Regions from separate parts of the Homo sapiens genome. Here region 2 is linked to region 1. Evidence: promoter capture Hi-C in human tissues and cell types (Jung and others, 2019). All regions are on one chromosome and are shown on one strand. The core of a region is centred on a gene start or on the middle of the fragment in contact, and the rest is flanking DNA. Distances in the headings are between cores, read along the strand shown. Region 1 holds the start of EVA1C (eva-1 homolog C). Region 2 overlaps EVA1C (eva-1 homolog C).

What was found. Contacts are between HindIII fragments. The study calls those that stand out against the background at their distance.
Region 2: a contact is called between a fragment that was not itself captured here and the fragment with the promoter of EVA1C in region 1, in 3 of the 25 tissues and cell types used here (H1 embryonic stem cells, dorsolateral prefrontal cortex and heart left ventricle).

What each region holds. Positions count from the first base shown.
Region 1 is chr21:32,411,275-32,413,974 of GRCh38, reverse strand. It overlaps EVA1C (eva-1 homolog C), which reads right to left and starts at 1,269. Exons shown (of 8, transcript NM_058187.5): 1 at 962-1,269. The coding sequence starts at 1,121. The HindIII fragment of the contact is 9,144 bases long and covers 1-2,700 here.
Region 2 is chr21:32,446,631-32,449,330 of GRCh38, reverse strand. All of the region lies in intron 1 of EVA1C (eva-1 homolog C), which reads right to left. Among named protein-coding and RNA genes, the nearest start is that of EVA1C, 35 kb to the right of the region's middle. The HindIII fragment of the contact is 3,605 bases long and covers 1-2,700 here.

The DNA of each region.
Region 1 (2,700 bases), core at 20-2,519:
ACTCTGCACTGAGGACCCGATAGGGACCGACTGTGCAAAGCCTGAACTTGGCAGAAGATCCCTGGAGAAGGAGGAGTATGGGGCTCAGAGCTGCTCCCTAAGCTGGGCTGGGGAAGGCTGAAGGCCTCCAGCCTTGCCAGAGGGAGATCCAGGTGTGCTTCAGCGGCAAGGACATGTGTTACCTTAAGCAACTGCAGCGCTAACTTAAGCATGTGCTCCTATGGCTATCGTCAACCTAGAAATCCCTTTCACTTTGGGGCGTCACACCTGTAAGCTCAGAACTATCTGAGATCCGCTGCGAGAGCCTGGATCACGATTCCCAAAAAGAAAAGCCTCCTAGTTTATTCGAGAGTAGGAAGTCATTATTTTCTGTGAAGGAAACTGGAATTGGAGAGGGAGGACCCTGGTACACTTTGGCAGAGAGGCTCCTCTCTCTTATCTAAGTATCTCCTCATCCCTCACTGCCTTTCCACCAGACCTCCAGTCCCCGCGGGCTTCCCTTTCTACCTGCCAATGTGGACTCGAGGTCAAGTGTCCCCTGGGCTAGTCTCCTTACATGGGCAAACGGGCTACGCGGGTGACAAACGCGGCGCAACGCCTCCGACCACAACACGTGTATTTTACAGCGCTGGGCGCGGCACAGGGCTCAGTTTAAGGAGCCTCCATAGAACGAGCGTGGCTCAGGACCAGGTCCCTAATGCTAGGAAATTGACGAGGTCAACAGCAGGGCGAGAAACTCTGAATACATTACACACCCTTCCTTCTTGGGAGTGGCAGTCCCCCGTCGCCACTTCACTCGCAGCCATCTATATGCCAAGGGCTCACACCAGACAAGTGTCTGTGAGCACGCCTCAACTTTAATCCTACCCCGCCGTGTCCACTGGTGCGGCTGCCCCCAGTCGAGGGTTCACCTGGGCGCTCCGCGGTGCCGGGGGCACACAGCCAGGGAGGGCGCTCTTACCAGAGAAGTCGGTGAGCGCTGAGATCTCTTTGGAGCAGACCAGGACAGTGCAGTAGAAGAGGCGCAGGAGCTGCCCCGGCGGCTCTACCTGCCGGCGGAGGCCGGGATGCTGCACGGGCTGGGGCGTCGGCGGTTGGCGTGCGCGTCCCGGCAGAAGCATCGTGCGCTGCGCGGCGGGGCGGAGGCGCAGGCCCGGGACGCGCTGGGGGTCGCAGGGCTAAGGACGGCGTCACATGGCGGGGAGAATCGATGGCCAGCGGCTCCGCGGCCCCCCGCCGCCTCCCTGCCCAGGCTGCCAGAGCCTCCTCCCCTGCGCGGGCCAGCCCAGGCGCCCCAGCAAAGGGGAGGGGGCGGAGAACTGGGGCGGGGCGAGGATCCCCGAAAAGGATCCGCGTAGTTTCCCCGAGAGGAAATCTCCGTTGCCGCCGTGCCGGAGGAAGCGAGGGGGGCCGTAGGGAAAGCGCAGCCTTCGCGCGCCCCGCGGCTGCCCAGGCCGATCCCTGGCGCGCTGCCCACCGCGGAGGGCGCCCCCAGTAGCGCGCCCCGGGCCGCGCACCTTGAGCGCCTTCCACACCCGGGAAACAGCCGGGCACCCGTGGCCCTGCCCGCGCTGGCCGGGTGCCAGCCTCGCCCTGGCGGCAGAAGGAGCGCGGCCGGTGCCCGTGACGCACTTTGGAGCCAGCGCCGCGCGTGCAGCTGGGGCGCCCCCGGGGCGGGGCCGATCGGGGGCCGCAGGAAGGTGGGGTCCTGGAGGCGTGGGATCGCACCGCTGCCATCCCCGCCACCCGCCGCGCGCCACGTGCAGTCACCCGGCACATACAGTTATCGCCATTCCACAGAAGAGGAGACTGAGCCCCGGCGCCGTGCCCAAGCTCTCGCAGCCAGGACGGCGACGAGCTGGAGGTCTCAAAACCGGTCAGATGGCTCCGGAGCCGGGATCTTTAGCTCCAGCTCGGCTTCCTTTGGGTGCTGGTTGTCCGCAGCGCTGGGGGATCTGACACTGCACCGGCGCAAACAGCCGCCGAGCGCTAATAATTGGGCTTTGTTTTAAAGTGGGCCACAGCATCTTTCTGAACCTCTAGACTGTGCGCGGGGTGACCCACGTTCGGACGCCCAGCCAGTGGCCTAGGAGTGGCCTGCGTAGCCCCAACTCAAGGGTATCGAGGACAAGTGCGCGAGGGGCTCCGTGGCTGCTTGCCGGGTGCGGGTACCTGGCGCCCAGCGACCCAAACCCTATGGATCGCGCGGGGCCGGCGGAAGGGAGGAGGGCGGGCGCTAGGCACACAGTGTTCCCGAACCCGGCGGGAGGGCCTGCCAAGTTCGCGGCGGGCGTGACGCGGAAACGTAGATAATGAGGCCCAGGGCGGGGCCGGACGCACTGCCCCGCGGGCTCCAGAGCTGCGAACGCCCCAGAGTGTGCAGGGAGGCCTGCAGAAAGAAAATGCGGCTGAGGGTCCCCGTGGGACCCACTCAGAGGTGGGCCGTAAAGATCCCGGAAGGGTGGATGGCATTAGATACCACCTAGTACTCCAGCAAGGGCTGGGTCACCGAATTGGGATCTCGGCCTCTTCTTCCAGTCTGGGGAAAAGTGTGTTAAATGCTAAACATCAGTGTTTATCGAGTGAGGCCCAGCCTGTCTGGCATAATGATTTTTAAAATCTACATTCAAATATTAAATAAAAACTCAACCTCCCCAATAACATTTGAACATAAATATTAGTGTGCGCTCTCTAGGTTAG
Region 2 (2,700 bases), core at 82-2,581, 35 kb before region 1:
ACCCTGTGTGATACCACAATGGTGGAGCCACGTCATTGTCCATACGTCCAAACCCATGCAACGTACAACACCAAAAGTGAGCCCTCATGTAAACTATGGACTCTGGGTGATAGTGATTTGTCAATGTAGGTTTATTGATTATGACAAATATCGCACTCAGGTTTGATATTGCTAGTGGGGGAAGCTGCACGTGTGTGTGTATGTGTGTGGCAGGTAGGAGTAGAGGTTGATGAAAACTCTGCACTTTTTGCTCCATTTTTCTTTCTTTTCTTTTCTCTTTCTTTCCTTTTCCTTCCTTCTTTCCTTCCTTCCTTCCTTCCCACCCTCCCTCCTTTCTTTCTTTCTCTCTTTCTTTCTTTCTTTTTCTTTCTCTTTTCTTTCTTTCTCTCTTTCTCTCTCTTTCTTTCTTTCTCTCTTTTCTCCTTTCTTTTTTTTTCTTTGTCACCCAGGCTGGAATACAGTGGTAAGATCTCAGCCCACTGCAACCTCCACCTCCCAGATTCAAGCAATTCTCCTGCCTCAGCCTCCCAAGTAGCTAGGATTACAGGCATGCACCACCACGCCTGGCTAATTTTTTTGTATTTTTAGTAGAGTTGGGGTTTCATCATATTGGTCAGGCTGGTCTCAAACTCCTGACCTCGTGATCTGCCCGCCTCAGCCTCTCAAAGTGCTGGGATTACAGGTGTGAGCCACAGTGCCTGGCCTCTTCTCCATTTTTCTATGAACCTAGAACTTCTCTAACACATTAAGTCTATTTAAAAGGAAAAAAAAATCCTTATCACCTCGGCCCCAGGATAGCATTACCTATGGGAGGAGAGGAGCTAGCGTTAGGGAGGGGAGAACGAGGAGCTCGGGCGAGCTGGCCATCATGTCCTGTTCCTTGATCTGATGGCAGGCATGTGCTTTACTTTGTGAAAGCTCACCCAGTTATCCACTTTGGATATGTAAACAAAAATGTTTAAGAAAACTTCACCTGTAGTTATCTGACCTACACTTTTAAACAATAAAGAAAGCCTAGGCACATGGAGCCCTGGATAACTCATGGAGCAAGCGGGTGCGGAATGCCTTCTGTAGCCAGCCTCAGTCCCACGAGGATGGGCTGCTGGGTGACAGCAGGACAGGCTGCCCAAATGCTCTGGTCCTCCAGGGTGCCTGCCCATGCCCCATTCTGTTTGGTCCACAGTGCCAAAAGGTCAGGAAGAAGGACAATTAGAACAACCCCATGGTTTCAGCAACATGGAGGCCATCAAGAACCATTTTGAAACCATATGGGATGGGGGATGGGGACAGAAGCTTGTTCGGAAAAGGTTGAAAAGTGAGTGGAGGGGCCAGGCGCGGTGGCTCACGCTTGTAATCCCAGCACTTTGGGAGGCCGAGGCAGGCGGATCACCTGAGAATGAGAATTCAAAACCAGCCTGACTAACATGGAAAAACCCCGTCTCTGCTAAAAATACAAAATTAGCCGGACGTGGTGGCAGGCGCTTGTAATCCCAGTTACTCGGGAGGCTGAGGGAGGTGAATCACTTGAATCTGGGAGGTAGAGGTTGCAGTGAGCTGAGATCGCGCCATTGCACGCCAGGCTAGGCAACAAGAGCAAAACTCCATCTCAAAACACAGAAAAAAGAAAAAAGAAAAGTGAGTGGAAGTGAAGAAAGTCAAAGATGGTCCATGTGGTAGGCAGAATAACGGCCCCCAAAGATGTCCACAGGCCTTAATCCCCAGGATCAGTGATTATGTTACCAGACATTCATGGTAAAAGGGACTTGGCAGATGTGATTAAGTTATCAAAAAAAAAAAAGAGAAACATAGCTGTAAGAACTGATGTTCAGAGAGAGATTTTTAAATAATTGTGATTGAGTTAAAGTGAAAGAGGCTTGTGCATATATGTATGTGTACAGATAAATACATATGCACATGACCCTTAGATCGTATGTATTAGATTTCTTTCCTTTTCCCCCCACCGAGACGGAGTCTCCCTTTGTCACCCAGGCTGGAGTGCAGTGGCGTGATTTTGGTTGACTGCAACCTCCACCTCCCTGGTTCAAGCAGTTCTGCCTCAGCCTCTGGAGTAGCTGGGACTACAGTGCCCGCCACCATGCCCAGCTAATTTCTGTTTTTGGCTAGGCTGGTCTGGAACTCCTGACCTCAAGTGATCCACCCACCTCAGCCTCCCAAAGTGCTGGGATTACAGGTGTGAGCCACTGCGCCAGGCTCATACCTATTAGATTTCTTACCATGGGTTATGGTCCGACAAGTTTGAAGGGGGATATTGTCAAGAGACGGCTCAAAATGATGAACCGTGGGCTCCAAGCTAAATGTAAGAAAGGAAATGAGCACAGAAGAGGGGAGGGGCGCAAGGGACCAGAGTTCCTAATGAGGACCAGCAAGGTCAGAGTGAGGGAATCACACAGCAGGCTGGAAAGGCAGGAGGCTGTGCCCACGAGTTGTTTGAGGAGTGATTTCAAGGTGGATTTGCAGGTTATGGAAATGTCCAGGAGTGGCCATGGAAGGAGGTAGGAGAGGTTGGTGGAGAAGGTTGCTGGAAACAAGGATGCCAGGACTGAGAGTGAAGATGCCCTGTGGACCAGGCGTCTCCCAGGATGAAGGTAGGAAGTGGGGTGGAGCAGGAGCCAGCTGCCAAGGTTGTCCTTAAACAAAAGGCAGATGACAGATGAGCTGCTCCCAATCTCACACCCTTTC